Linked DNA regions of Homo sapiens: all the other regions are linked to region 1. The links are contacts of gene promoters, found by promoter capture Hi-C in blood cells and fetal thymus (Javierre and others, 2016). All regions are on one chromosome and are shown on one strand. The core of a region is centred on a gene start or on the middle of the fragment in contact, and the rest is flanking DNA. Distances in the headings are between cores, read along the strand shown.

Region 1 (3,657 bases), core at 673-3,172:
AAAATGCAGGTGTATTTGACTCCTAAAACCCATTTATCCATCCACTATTCTGGGTGTCTCAAACTGGGACCTAAAATGCGGAGGTTTGCACATGACCTGAAATTACTTCCACCACTGGGAGAAGGGAGGATTGAGCAATTTCCTGTTTCTATTAAAGTGCATTATACAAACTTGTCATTCTGGGGATGAAAGGTCACCCTAGAATTGCCTATGGGCAATTTCTTATAGTTCAACCTAGAATGAGAAATGGGAAATTCAGAAAGGCATTGTAGGCATCTGTAACCAGCAGAGGGACGTGCCCCACCTGGGTGGGGACCATGCATCCTTGCCACATGCCCCACTGCACAACTTCCCCAGCTCCTCAACGTCACATGGATCTGGAAAGCAGGGAGACTGGACTACGGAGCCAGCCCTCCAGGGTTGGAACTGAGTTTGAATCTCAGCTTGACTACTTACTAGGATCTAAGGTAACATGTTTAATCTCTCTGTGCTCAGTTTCCTCATCTGGAAATAGAGATTATAATGCTCCTCCCTCATATGATCATAGTGAGGACTGAAAGAGTTAATGCATATAAGGAGTGTTAGGACAGGATCTGGCACATGGTAAATGCTTTATAAGTGTTAGTTGTTATCATCATGATTATTCTTGTTTGAATTATAAGAGAAAAAGCATGTATCTTAAGAATAGAGGGTTTTAAAATGCTCCCAAGTTCCTTAACCAACCTGAGCCATCTGTAAATTAAGTACTATGGGATTTCCAGCTCTGACATGTATTCTGACATGTAACTGGCATCAGTTTAATACAAACTATTCTAAAATGTCTTGTGCCCTTGACAGGGAGGTCCAAGTACTGGATACTTGCAATGCAATCCAGCAGTGGCCCCGTCTTTCTTACAAAAAGGCCCCAGTCACATGTTGATGAGGCTAGATCTATTCCTGTCCTCCTTCTCTTCCCCATATTTCCTTATTCTTCTTCAAGTCTAAACGTTTATTGAACTGAGACCCATGAATGAGTTACTCGACTAGGCTTGTAGGATAAACTTGCCAGGCTTTAGATCTATTTGTTCCTTTCCATCCCCCAAAATCAAATGGCTGCTCCAGGAAAATGTTCCCCTTGTGGCAGGGTCCGGGAGAAAAGAGAGAAGCGACAAAACCAAAAATTAAAACGACCGAAGTCCCATATGCTCCAGGAATATGTCCTGGAGATGGGAGTGGAGGGCAGGGGGAGAATGTTGTTGAGGTCAAAATTTTTGAAGTTTTAAGTCCTATATCTTGACATCCCGAGTATAAATGCGGGTACCAGACACAGTACAAACGTTCTCAAAGCCCAGTTACGTATTCCAAACCAAACGCGGGCTCTTGAAGGGTGATGAGGTAGGGATGAAATCCAGGATCGCCTGAAGACCATTTCTTCCTCTCTTAGGGACCTGCTGGTCTCCAGCTGATTCGGTCCAGGAGGAAAAACCTCCCACTTGCTCCTCTCGGGCTCCCTGCAAGGAGAGAGTAGAGACACTCCTGCCACCCAGTTGCAAGAAGTCGCCACTTCCCCCTCCAGCCGACTGAAAGTTCGGGCGACGTCTGGGCCGTCATTTGAAGGCGTTTCCTTTTCTTTAAGAACAAAGGTTGGAGCCCAAGCCTTGCGGCGCGGTGCAGGAAAGTACACGGCGTGTGTTGAGAGAAAAAAAATACACACACGCAATGACCCACGAGAAAGGGAAAGGGGAAAACACCAACTACCCGGGCGCTGGGCTTTTTCGACTTTTCCTTTAAAAAGAAAAAAGTTTTTCAAGCTGTAGGTTCCAAGAACAGGCAGGAGGGGGGAGAAGGGGGGGGGGGTTGCAGAAAAGGCGCCTGGTCGGTTATGAGTCACAAGTGAGTTATAAAAGGGTCGCACGTTCGCAGGCGCGGGCTTCCTGTGCGCGGCCGAGCCCGGGCCCAGCGCCGCCTGCAGCCTCGGGAAGGGAGCGGATAGCGGAGCCCCGAGCCGCCCGCAGAGCAAGCGCGGGGAACCAAGGAGACGCTCCTGGCACTGCAGGTACGCCGACTTCAGTCTCGCGCTCCCGCCCGCCTTTCCTCTCTTGAACGTGGCAGGGACGCCGGGGGACTTCGGTGCGAGGGTCACCGCCGGGTTAACTGGCGAGGCAAGGCGGGGGCAGCGCGCACGTGGCCGTGGAGCCCGGCCTGGTCCCGCGCGCGCCTGCGGGTGCCCCCTGGGGACTCAGTGGTGTCGCCTCGCCCGGGACCAGAGATTGCGCTGGATGGATTCCCGCGGGCAGAGGCAGGGGGAAGGAGGGGTGTTCGAAACCTAATACTTGAGCTTCTTTGCAAAGTTTCCTTGGATGGTTGGGGACGTACCTGTATAATGGCCCTGGACCAGCTTCCCTGTTGGAGTGGCCAGAGAAGTGTGTAAAACACACTAGAGGGGCAGGGTGGAAAAAGAGACTGCCTTCAAAACTTGTATCTTTTCGATTTCATTTTGAAAAATAACTACAAATCTATTTTAATTTTACAAAGTTAGACTCATAGCATTTTAGATATCAATGTCTTCATTTAACAGAAGTGAAGATGGAGCAAACGCTCAATCAGCGTCTGTATTTATTCGCTCCTGTTGTGCCAGGGTGCGTTTTTGCCGAGCGGTTGCCTTTCTTTACTCACAAAACCCCCTTGATGTCTGTCCTCCACGTTTTACGAGGGAGAGCCGGATCTTTTGAAGTTTGTATCATCTAAAGCAGGTATATTGGGATGACTATGGATAGAATTTAACCTGAAAACACTGAAGTTGACAGCTGACAAAGATATAAGAATCCAAAGTATGTTAAAAATTAAGGAGCTGAGGCCCACAGAAGTGAAGTTACTTTTCCAGCATCACACAGCAGATCTAGGACCCTGTGTGATTTGAAAAGGCCAAGGTATCTAATGATGCTCATAATTTAGTTTACATTTTGTGTCAAATAGATGAGGTCAAGTGGACATTATGTGTATATTCCAAAGCCAAAATTACTGCTTGTAATATCCATTCATCTCTCCGAAGACGTAGTGCCTCTTTTATATGGCTTTAACCTAATGTATAATCGAAGTGAATTAGGGCAGCCAGACTTTTAATCACAGGACTGATCTTTTAAAAACGGGTATATGTAAAGTTAATTGCTTATCTATGTGAACAGTAATATACACTATAAAAAGTTTTCAAGGCAACTTCCTGCCTGTGGTTTAATTTGATAGTCACAATGATAGGAAATTGGCAGGGTTAGGTGGTGGTATCTACATTTTGCCCATGAGGACTTGTGGCTCAGAGAATTTGAGTTTTTTCTAGTAAGGTCACTAGGTCCCTAGTGCACAGCCTGCTTTTAGGTACGGATGTGGGATGGGGGTGTCGGCAGACCACAGGGTTTTGACTCTCAGTTTGGGCTCATTTCCATGACTCCTTGCTGCCTCCCTGATTTCTGTCAAATGACCAAAGCACATTTAGTAATTACTTCTGCTGCAAGGACTACTCCTTATTAGGCTGTGATAAGTAAGTTTCCTCACATAGTGGGTCAGCTCACTCTGGCCACAGGACCCAGCTTCCTAACCACACACATTAAGAAAGAGAAAAATTAGCACTGTCTGAGACCTACAACCACTTCAAGGGAGAACAGTGGTGTTTGCACAAATGTC
Region 2 (3,657 bases), core at 617-3,116, 190 kb before region 1:
GACAAAGTCTGCTTTTGGTCTATATTTTTTTATGAGAACACCATGACTAATCTGACAGAATATGCAGTATAAGAAGTATTTTCTTATAGTTATTTCTACTATTCTTTTCTTTCTCATGAAAGGACTCACTGAAATTGTGCAGGATGGATGGAATCCCTGCCACTAAACTCCTACACATCAAAAACAAACGTGTAATTCAGTAAAATGGAAGCTGGTGAGTCTGTGCTTCCTGCCAACCCCAGGGAAGATCCAAGTTTCTTTTGTGATACTGTACAACTCACTGCTTCTTCAGGAGGTATCATCAACAGAGGTCTTGTGCACTCTGAAAATAAGAATGCCAGCCCAGAGTCACAGCAGGCTTTTTCTTTCCAGAATTTCTACCTCAAGAACAGACTCATGAGGACCACAGCGGTCTTGGTAAGAGACCTCTTCTTTTGGAAAAAACTCATACCTTGGTTTTATACACTGTACTAGCCTCTCATGGGGTTCTGTTATCTACATCCCCTCTCAAAGGCTATCTTCCATTACATAGTTAACCCTGGACCCCGAGTCTAGACTGAACTGTGAGTCCTCAAATTTTGTTTTCATGTCCACCGATAAGCCCTATCTGTCTAGACTACACAGCTATGAAATACTACAAAAATCTCAGTCAATTTCCAAATCTTGAACACAAATCTATTCCATGCAACTCATGTGTCATGCATATTTTACTGTATTCTTATCCTCTGAAAGTTAGTTGTGTTTTAAAACACGTAGGAAAATTCTCTCTTAACCAAATTATTTTAGCAAAATATTATACACATATTTGCAAACATTGCACACATTTATGCTGCTTAAACAGTGACTGACTAATAAGCAAGAACTAGAGTAGACTCTATCCAGCCAGCCAAACGCCAGCTCTCCCTAAGTGCTCTGCTTGTGGCTCTGTCCACCTTCTGACTCTGCTGTCTCTACTCTTTATCATACGTCTTCTAGTTTTCCGGAGAGAGATGTTCTAGATATGTACCTTCTGATTTAAGAAAAAAGCACCTCTATCTCTGCCAATTGTAAAAATTGACAGCAATATATCATATCCATCATTGTTATAAAAATACTGTGTATATCAAAATATACTACTCCCCTTTGTTATGCTGATGATATCTGGTTGCCCTCTATAAAGGGACAAGGGTTTCTATAACCACAAGCCTGCTTCGCCACATGCCCCTCTTCCTTGAATAAGAAAGGTTCAGACCATGAGTCGACTAGACCCCAACACTCAGTTGTCCCAAGAGGCATGATTGAGGGTAGAAGGAATAGCAGAGACAGCATATGCACAACCATTTTTAGAACTTTGGCAACAGGTAGTTTAGGTGAGCTTTTGAAAGGTGCATAGAGGCTCCCGCTCAGTCTTTCACCTGTGTCTCAGTATTATGAAGGCAATTCTGTTTGGTTTGTGTTTTGTTTTGGCAGTGCTACAAAGGACCTCAACACTTCCAGCCAAGGCAGGACCCCTCTAATGAAAAAATATTTGTCCTGAGGGCCCCCCTTGGGGTGGCAGAGACACTGATGTGTCAGTTGAGATTTATGACAATGATGTAAAGCAGAGAAAAGACCATGCAGGGTTGGCTCACAAAACTGTTGGTGGAGTTGGGGGGAAAGGACAGGCCACTGGGCTGCTGCCATTGCTAGGAGTGGGAGAAAGATTCAATCGAGAACTTATTGAGTGCCTACTATGTGGCAGGAACTTAACGGAAGTGATCATCTCCTAGTTCTTATGGTCACTTTTTGAAATGGTTACTACTATCCATATTTTATGGATCAAATTTTCCAAATATTTATTCACACCTTATGTGACATATACTGCACCATGAAGTTATCTGTCTTAAAAGTGAGAACTGGCTGGGCATGGTGGCTCATGCCTGTAATCCCAGCACTTTGGGAGGCTGAGGCGGGTGGATCACTTGAGGCCAGGAGTTCAAGACCAGCCTGGCCAACATGGTGAGACCTGTCTCTACTAAAAATACAAAAAAATTAGCCTGTCGTGGTAGTGCATGCTTGTGGTCCCAGCTACTTGGGAGGGTGAGGCAGGAGGATCACTTGAACCTGGGAGACTGGAGGTTGCTGTGAGCCAGGATTGCTCCACTGCACTCCAGCCTGGGTGACAGAGTGAGACTCTGTCTCAAAAAAAAAAAAAAAAAAAGTGAGAACTAACAATAAAATTCCTAGCCCCCAAGGATGGAATGAACCCCTCTCTTAGCCAATGGGACCCCAGGGAAATATTAAAAACTGAATTCCTAGCCATGATGGAATGGGAGTTCAAACATGTTTCATGATACCCTCCTTTTTGTGGTTTAGACATGAAAACTGACCAGCATTAACACTGAAACAGATCATAAGACTGATGGAACAGACTCTTTGTGGCAATAAGATACCAAATTATAAAGACCTAACACCATACCAGGCAAGGGTTAAGTCACACACCCCTACACTTAAAGAATAAATTCTGTTCTAACTGCCACCAGATTTCTTTTTCCATAGTGGCTAAACGAGCATCGGCCTCAAGATAAGCAATATTAAAAACAATTATAGCTCATCCACCACCAGACGCAGACTAACTCCCTGTTCCACAAGCCGTAACTATAGCTTTGATTGAACCAGAAGCTGATTTCAGTAACTTTCTTCTGATAAGAGGCCACTAACTATAGGATGGTTCTGGCCAGTTTACAGAGGCTGCATGCTAGAGTGCCTCGTTTTTTTCGCTTCACTTTTTTGACCCAATTGTAATGCATTTAAAGGTGAAGTCTCCACTCCCAACGTGAAATGGGACACATGTAACATGCATGTTTATTCAATATGCATGCATCAGGATCTTCTTTGTAAATATTCATAGCTTCTCCTATAACTGTTGAATATATATGTGTAGCCAACCTGTTTAGCGTAAAGCTCCTGCCCCAACCCCCCCTCCTATGCAGTGCCTGTTAACAGTCTCTGCTGGAGGCTACACTTCCCAGCCTGGCAGGATGGCTACCCTGCAGTCTGTAACCCTTTATAAAAAATAAAGTCTCCTTTCCAAAGTACATAGGCAATTGAAGTAGAATATAATAAGTGATATGAAGTATAGAGAAAATGATCACCTGTCTAGCTGGAGGATTGAGAGTAGGCTTCTAAGATAACATCCAAACTGACTCTTGAAGCATAAGAAACCCATTTTACCTGGGATTATCCAGTTGAAAAACCAAGGCAGGGGCAGCCAGGAAACTCCATGTACAAATTAGAGAAAACAAAGTTTAAGTCTCAGTTTCCTTATAAAAGTTAGGACCAGGATTTAAACTCAGCTTTGACTCCAAAGATTGTGTTTATTCTACTTCCACCAAAATTTAGAAAGGAAAATGGTAGTAGATGCATATACAACTGCCTCTCCATCCTTCACAGGTGTATCTAGAGCCAACTCTCACCACTGTGATTTTCCAGGACATGGTTTTCTTACCCTGTTGCTCCCATGAAGAACAAAATGCAGTTTGAACTAGTTGACAACAGTAACATAGAGAGTTCTGAAGTACTTTTTTGACTGCCAAAGCTCCCCTGATGGGAGTTGGCAGCAGAAATACTTTCTGGGTTAGACAATTACTGGTAGTAAAGAATCCCTGAAGGTTACACCTAACTCCAGTTATGCCATTA
Region 3 (3,657 bases), core at 719-3,218, 180 kb before region 1:
CTAGGTGCTTCATAGAAGTATAATCACACATTTTTTTCTGACTTCTATTCAACATAATATTAGAAGTTCTAAAAAAGGAAATAAAATTGGAAATGAAGAATTAAATTTATCTCTGTTCACAGATGATAGGATTATATATTTAGAAAACCCTGAAAAATCCACACAAAAAACTGTTGAGTAGTGATAATTACATAATAATGTGAGTGTACTTAATGCCACTGAATTGTACACTTAAAAATGGTTAGAATAGTAGATTTTACATGATGTCTATTTTACCACTACTTAAAAAGAAAACCAAACTGGTTTTGGTTTTTCTTAAGAATTGAGAAAAATGCCAGCCCAGTAGTCATTAGCCAGCGTCAGAGGTTGTATGTAAAGAGCACACGTGGCCTAGCAGCTCTGTTTGAGGATGTAACACCTGATAAACTAATGGCTACGTGAGTGCAGGCAAGGGACGGAACGTTTTAACTCCAAGAGTCAGGAAATCCATCATGAAGGTATCATATGCTTGAGACCTTGAGGACAGAAGGGATTTCCACAGTGGAAGGAGATTACTCCAGGCTTTCCAACTGCAGATGCAAAGACATTGTCTCTTCCACCTTGAGAATACTGAAATCTTCTTTATTTGATTATCTTTTGGACCTACTCTGAATAGCTGCTAAGGTAATTTTCATTCTTTTTTTTTTTTTTTTTTTTTTTTGAGACAGAGTCTCGCTCTGTCGCCCAGGCTGGAGTGCAGTCACTGCAACATAAGCCTCCCGGATTCACACCATTCTCCTGCCTCAGTCTCCTGAGTAGCTGGGACTACAGGCACCCGCCACCATGCCCGGCTGATTCTTTGTATTTTTTAGTAGAGACGGGGTTTCACCGTGTTAGCCAGGATGGTCTCGATCTTCTGACCTCGTGATCCCCCCGCCTTGGCCTCCCAAAGGGCTGGGATTACAGGCGTGAGCCATCGCGCCCGGCTGGTAATTTTCATTCTTATAATTGCTGACTAGTTGAGAAGAAGAGGTCCCAAACTACAGAGAAGAAAGGAAGAAAGATGTGTCCAGTGAAATCCAGGGTCCCCCCGCTCCCATTCAAGGCCATCTGAAAGTATCTCCCCCTGCTTTTCAAGTTCATCGAATATGTTTAAGAAACCTGGAATTTCCAAGTCCATCAGCCTATTGAAACAAAACAGCTATAACTATAAAATTTAGATCCTTTTAAGATTTTCAATCCTTAGAATTAAAGATATTTATTACAAAATATAGTTGTATTAAATCATATATGTCAAAATATTACAAACGTGTATTTCATATTAGATAACTATCAACAACACAAAATTTCCTATCATTTTTCCTAGTGCTCCATTTTTTCAGACCTTTTCTTAATCTATTTTCTTGTCTGAGACCAAATACAAATGAATCAAAAGCCATTTCAGTGTTACATATTGGGTTTCCACGCATCCCTGTAGCATCTTTATCAGTAGCCTTGCGCAGAGTACACACTTTTGTACCTCCTTCTTATTAGCAACTTCATTTTTTCATAGTACAGAAAAGAATTCATATAACCCCATCAGGTTCCTTACATGGACCCAAGTTAAAACGCATCATCTCAATGTCAGTCTCTTGGCTGTCTGCAGGGTAATATGGTGAATTGCTGCCTGTGCTGTAATTTTGTCAGCTCTTTAGTAAATTACAGTCAAGGATAAAGAGGACAGAGCTGCCTACTGACAAACAACATTCTTTATTCTCCTTTTTCTACAATGTACTGAATAATACCTTAGAGCGTAAGTCATCATATACCCTATATAACAAATGTATAATTACAACACATGAAGCCCAAAAAATGAGCTTCAAAGAATATCACGTTTTTTTTTAAACAGGAAGTGGAAAGATGTTTCAGAAGAGTGAGCACAGGTTTTAGACTCTGAAATCTTTTAGCAGCATGATGCTTTTGAACATCTGATCTAGGTTTTGATTCTGCTAGCTACATGTATATTTTAGCCTTTGGTCTTGCATTAAAACACCAGTTGCAAATAATGTTAGAAAAATGGGGAATAGAGGAAGGAATATTTTTATTTACTTTATTTTTAAAATTCTGCATATATAAAGAACGTTGCTTGTGGCATCCCTGACTCTTTGCAACAACCTTATAAAGTCGTCATTATTAGCCTCATGTTACAGCAGAAGCTGTGAGTTGCTGCCAAAGTTGCTTACTATCAACCTCTGAAGAGATGAAACAGAGAGTCATACAAGATCTGTTTAAATCCAACAGCCTTTGACACTTTAAACTTCAGAACACATTGGATTTACACGTGTAAAATTGCCTTAGAGTTTGTAATTTCATGAAAGCAAAAATTCAACTTTTCCTTAAGAACAAATTTAGCATGTATGCCTTGAAACTGGCTTATTAAATAATATGAAAATGTTCATTGTGGCTATTTGGCCTCCTAATGCTTAGTTTTATTTAGCAAACATCAAAACAAAATATGTATTAATCCAAAGCAAATATATTTTATTTAATTGGATTATTAATAGTTCACTAACATCATACTGTAGGTATTTTTCTTTTCTATAAATGTTTTATATTCCAGTCTATTCAAAACCTTACGAACCAAATCCTTTAAAGGACGTAAGTCACACATATTTTCAAACCAACAAAATAGTAAAATTCAGGGAACATTAGATGGAATAGGGAAGATGAAATAAAGAAGCAACTAAGAGATTTACAAGAATGGAGTTCTTCTGCCACCTTGTGGTTGTTCTGTGTTATAACCTAGAGCTACATTAAAATATTCAGGGAATTCTTCAGCCAGAGTCTCTTTAGCCAGGTGTGGCGCGTGGCTGAGCTCTGGTCAATGGAATGTGGCCTTGGTCTTTATTGACTGTGGTTATCGTGTTTCCATTTTTTTCTTCCTGAATATCATAGCTAATTTTGGTATTGGCGACGACCGCTTTCTTAAACTTTCTCTTCTGCTGGGTTTAGATTTTTCTCTCCTTGTTTTTCTCCTATGAAACAAATAAGCATTACTAGATTTCATCAAAGATCATCACTTCATCACATCAAAGATTTCACTTCACTCTAGCCAAACTGGCCTCCCTGATTCTCCTGCAACACCTCACACATGGTCCCCTTAGGGTCTTCTACAACTTAACATCCCTGGCTGCAACACTTTCCTCTGATACCATATGGGACCTACTCCACCTCTTTCAAGTCTTTGTTCAAATGTTTGTTTTTCAATGACCACCATATTTAGAAATGCAACTTCTGCTAACAAACTCCTTATTATTTTTATCTTACTTTATTTTTTACTGCAGTTATTCTAACATACTACATAATTTTAATACTTATTGTGTTTATTGTCTTTTTTACCATAGAATATAAAATCCATGAGGGCAAGGGAGTTTGTTTACTTCACTGCTGTGTGCTCTGAAACAAACAAACAAAAAAAACTGCCTGGCACATTGTAGGCGCTCAAAAAATATTTGTCCAATTACCGAATGAAAGAATTATAACTCCTTCTGTTGGCTAAAGCAACCTACGGGACAGTGTTTAGCCTCACAAGTATTCAGACACACAAATTAACACAAAGTATCATTTTTTTCTACAATATTAATTAGTCAATTTATGTGACCTTTAAATATAATTTCTAAAGCAAGCGAGAATTCAGTG
Region 4 (3,657 bases), core at 733-3,232, 160 kb before region 1:
AAATTTTTAAAAACACAAGAGATTAATAAAACAAAAAATTGGTTTTTTGAAAAGATAAACAAAATCAACAAACCTTGTGATGTTTAATACTGAATGTCAACTTGATTGGATTGAAGGATGCAAAGTATTGATCCTGGGTGTGTCTGTGAGGGTGTTTCTAAAGGAGATTAACATTTGAGTCAGTGGACTGGGTAAGGCAGACCCCCCCCCTTAATCTGGGTGGGCACTATCTAATCAGCTACCAGCATGGCCAGAAAAAAAAGCAGGCAGAAGAACATGAAAACACTAAACTGGCTTAGCCTCCCAGCCTACATCTTTCTCCTGTGCTGGATGCTTCTTACCCTCAAACATCAGACTCCAAGTTCTTCAGATTTGGGACTCAGACTGGCTTCCTTGCTCCTCAGCTTGCAGATGGTCCATTGTGGGACCTTGTGATTGTGTGAGTTTCTTAATAAACTCCATAGATATATATATATCCTGTTAGTTCTGTTCCTCTAGAGAACCCTGACTAATACAGATATTGGTACCAGTAGAGTGGGGCACTGCTGAAAAGATACCCAAAATTGTGGCAGTAAGTTTGGGGTTGGGAAATAGGCAAGGGTTGGAACAGTTTGGAGGACTCAGAAGAAGACAGGAAAATGTGGGAATGTTTGGAACTTTCTAGAGACTTGCTGAATGTCTTTGCCCAAAATGCTGATAGCGATATGGATGGTAGGGTCTGGGTTGAGGTGGTCTCAGATGGAGATGAGAAACTTTTGGGGAACTTGAGCAAAGGTAACTCTTGTTATGTTTTAGCAAAGAGACTAACAGCATTTCGCCACTGCCCTAGAGATTTGTGGAACTTTGAACTTGAGAGAAATGAGTTAGGGTATCTGGCAGAAGAAATTCCTAAGTAGCAAAGCATTCAAAAGGTGACTTGGGTGCTGTTAAAGGTATTCAGTTTTATAAGGGAAGCAGAGCATAGAAGCTGAGAAAATTTGCAGCTTGACAATGCAATAGAAAAGAAAATACCATTTTCTGAGGAGAAATACAAGCCACCTGCAGAAATTTGCATAAGTAACAAGAAGCTGAATGTTAGTCCCCAAGATAATGTGGAAAATGTCTCCAGGGCATGTCAGAGGTCTTCACAGCAGCCCCTCCCATCACAGACCGGAGGCCTAGGAAGAAAAAGTGGTTATGTGGACCGAGCCCAGGGTCCCCCTGCTGTGTGTAGCCTAGGGACTTGCTGCCCTGGTTCCCAGCTGCTCCACCTGTGGCTTAACGGGGACAATGTAGAGCTCAGGCTGTGGCTTCAGAGGGTGCAAGCTGCAAGACTTGGCAGCTTCCACATGGTGTCGAGCCTGCCAGTGCACAGAAGTCAAGAATTGGGGTTTGGGAACCTCTGCCCAGATTTCAGACAATATATGGAAATGCCTGGATGTCAGGCAGAAGTTTTCTGAAGAAGCAGGACTCTCATGAAGAACCTCTGCTAAGGCAGTGCAGAAGGAAAATGTGGGGTTGGAGTTCCCACACAGTATCCCTACTGGGGCACTGCCTAGCAGAGTTGTGAGACGAGTTGTCCTCCAGACCCCAGAATGGGAGATCCATTGATAGTTTGCACTGTTTGCCTGGAAAAGCCACAGACACTCAACACCAGCCCATGAAAGCAGCCAGGAGCGAGACTGTACCCACAAAGCCACAGGAGCAGAGCTGCCCAAGACCACAGTAACCCACCTCTTGCATCAGCGTGATGCAGATGTGAGACATGGAGTTAAAGGAGATCATTTTGCAGTTTTTAGATTTGACTGTCCTGCTAGATTTCAGACTTGCATGAGGCCTGTAGCCCCTTTGTTTGGCCAACTTCCCCCAATTTGGGACAGGTATATTTACCCATTGCCTGTACCCCATTGTACCTAGGAAGTAACTAACTTATTTTTACAGGCTCATAGGCAGAAGGGACTTGCCTTGTCTCAGATGAGACTTTGGACTGTGGACTTTTGAGTTAATGATGAAATGAGTCAAGACTTTGGGGGACTGTTGGGAAGGCATGATTGATTTTGAAATGTGAGGACATGAGATTTGGCAGGGGGCAAGGGTGGAATGTTATGGTTTGTCTTTGTTTCCCCACCCAAATCTCATCTTACATTGTATTCCCATAATTCCCACATGTTGTGAGAGGGTCCTGGTGGGAGATAATTGAATCATGGAGCCGGTTTCCCCCATACTGTTCTCATGATAGTGAATAAGTCTCACAAGATCTGACAGTTTTATAAGGAGTTTCCACTTTTGCTTCATTCTCATTCTCTCTTTGCCTTGCTGCCATCCATGCAAGACTTGACTTGCTCCTCCTTGCCTTCTGCCATGATTGTGAGGCCTCCCCAGTCATGTGGGACTGTGAGTCCATTAGACCTCTTTTTCTTCCCAGTCTCACATATGTCTTTATCAGCAGTGTGAAAATGGACTAATACAAACCTTTAGCCAGACTATGGGGAAAAAAGGGAGAAAAGTCAAATAAATAAAATTGAGATGAAAAAGAAGACATTACACTAAAACCACAGAAATTCAAAGAATCATTAGAGACTACTATGAGAAAATGTATGCCAAAAAATTTGAAAACCTAGAAAAAAATGGATATATTCCTAGATACATACAACCTGCAAAGATTGAACCATGAAAAAATCCAAAATCTGAATAGACAAATAACAAGTAATGAGATCAAAGCTGTAATAAAGTCTCCGATCAAAGAAAAGCCCAATACCTGATGGATTCACTGCTGAATTCTACCAAATATTTGAAAAACTAATACCAGTCTTACTCAATCTATTCCAAAAAATTCAAGGAGGAGGGAATACTTCCAAACTCCTTCTATAAGGCCAGTATTATCCTGATACCAAAACCAGAGAAAGGCACATCAAAAAAAGAAAACTGCAAGCCAATATCTCTGATGAATATTGTTGCAAAAATTCTCAACAAAATACTAGCAAACATTTTCAACAATACATTTAAAAGATCATTCATCACGACCAGGTGAAATTTATCCCAGGGATTCAAGGATGGTTCAACAGATACAAATCAACTGATATGATTCATCATATCAGCAGAACAAAGGACAAAAAGTATATGATCATTTAAATCGATGCTGAAAAACCATTTGATAAAATTTGACATCCCTTCATTCATGATAAAAAAAAAAAACTTGGTATAGAAGGAACATATCTCAACATAATAAAAGTTATATAAGACAGACCCACAGCTAGTACCATACTGAATGGGGAAAAACTGAACACCTTTCCTGTAAGGTCTGGAAGACAACAAGGATGGCCACTTTCACCGCTGTTATTCAACATAGTACTGGAAGTCCTAGCTAGAGCAATCAGACAAGAGAAAAAAATAAAGGCCATCAAAATTGGAAAGAAATAAGTCAAATTATCCATGTTTGCAGATTATATGATCTTATATAGAGAAAAACCAAAAACCCTAAAGACCACAAGAAAACTGTTAGAACTGATAAACAAGTTCAGTAATGTTTCAAGATACAAAGTTCAACATACAAAAATCAGTAGCATTTCTTTTTTTATATTTTTTTTAAGACAGAGTCTCACTCTTGTTGTCCAGGCTGGAGTACAATGGTGCAATCTCGGCTCACTGAAACCTCTGCCTCCCAAGTCGCTGGGATTA

The links. The method cuts DNA at HindIII sites, captures the fragments that hold promoters and counts their contacts. A CHiCAGO score of 5 or more calls a contact.
Region 2: a contact is called between a fragment that was not itself captured here and the fragment with the promoter of MIR155HG in region 1, in 1 of 17 cell types (activated CD4 T cells). The highest score is 5.4, in activated CD4 T cells.
Region 3: a contact is called between a fragment that was not itself captured here and the fragment with the promoter of MIR155HG in region 1, in 1 of 17 cell types (activated CD4 T cells). The highest score is 7.3, in activated CD4 T cells.
Region 4: a contact is called between a fragment that was not itself captured here and the fragment with the promoter of MIR155HG in region 1, in 1 of 17 cell types (activated CD4 T cells). The highest score is 7.5, in activated CD4 T cells.

Annotation. Positions count from the first base shown.
Region 1 is chr21:25,560,223-25,563,879 of GRCh38, forward strand. It overlaps MIR155HG (MIR155 host gene), which reads left to right and starts at 1,923. Exons shown (of 3, transcript NR_001458.3): 1 at 1,923-2,035. RefSeq lists an enhancer at 1,458-1,507 and silencers at 1,888-1,977, 1,988-2,267. The HindIII fragment of the contact is 13,141 bases long and covers 1-3,657 here.
Region 2 is chr21:25,366,119-25,369,775 of GRCh38, forward strand. No RefSeq gene overlaps it. Among named protein-coding and RNA genes, the nearest start is that of LINC00158, 64 kb to the right of the region's middle. The HindIII fragment of the contact is 4,256 bases long and covers 1-3,657 here.
Region 3 is chr21:25,383,346-25,387,002 of GRCh38, forward strand. It overlaps LINC00158 (long intergenic non-protein coding RNA 158), which reads right to left. Exons shown (of 5, transcript NR_024027.2): 5 at 2,475-2,993. Among named protein-coding and RNA genes, the nearest start is that of LINC00158, 47 kb to the right of the region's middle. The HindIII fragment of the contact is 6,485 bases long and covers 1-3,657 here.
Region 4 is chr21:25,401,071-25,404,727 of GRCh38, forward strand. The region is part of intron 4 of LINC00158 (long intergenic non-protein coding RNA 158); the gene reads right to left. Among named protein-coding and RNA genes, the nearest start is that of LINC00158, 29 kb to the right of the region's middle. The HindIII fragment of the contact is 5,453 bases long and covers 1-3,657 here.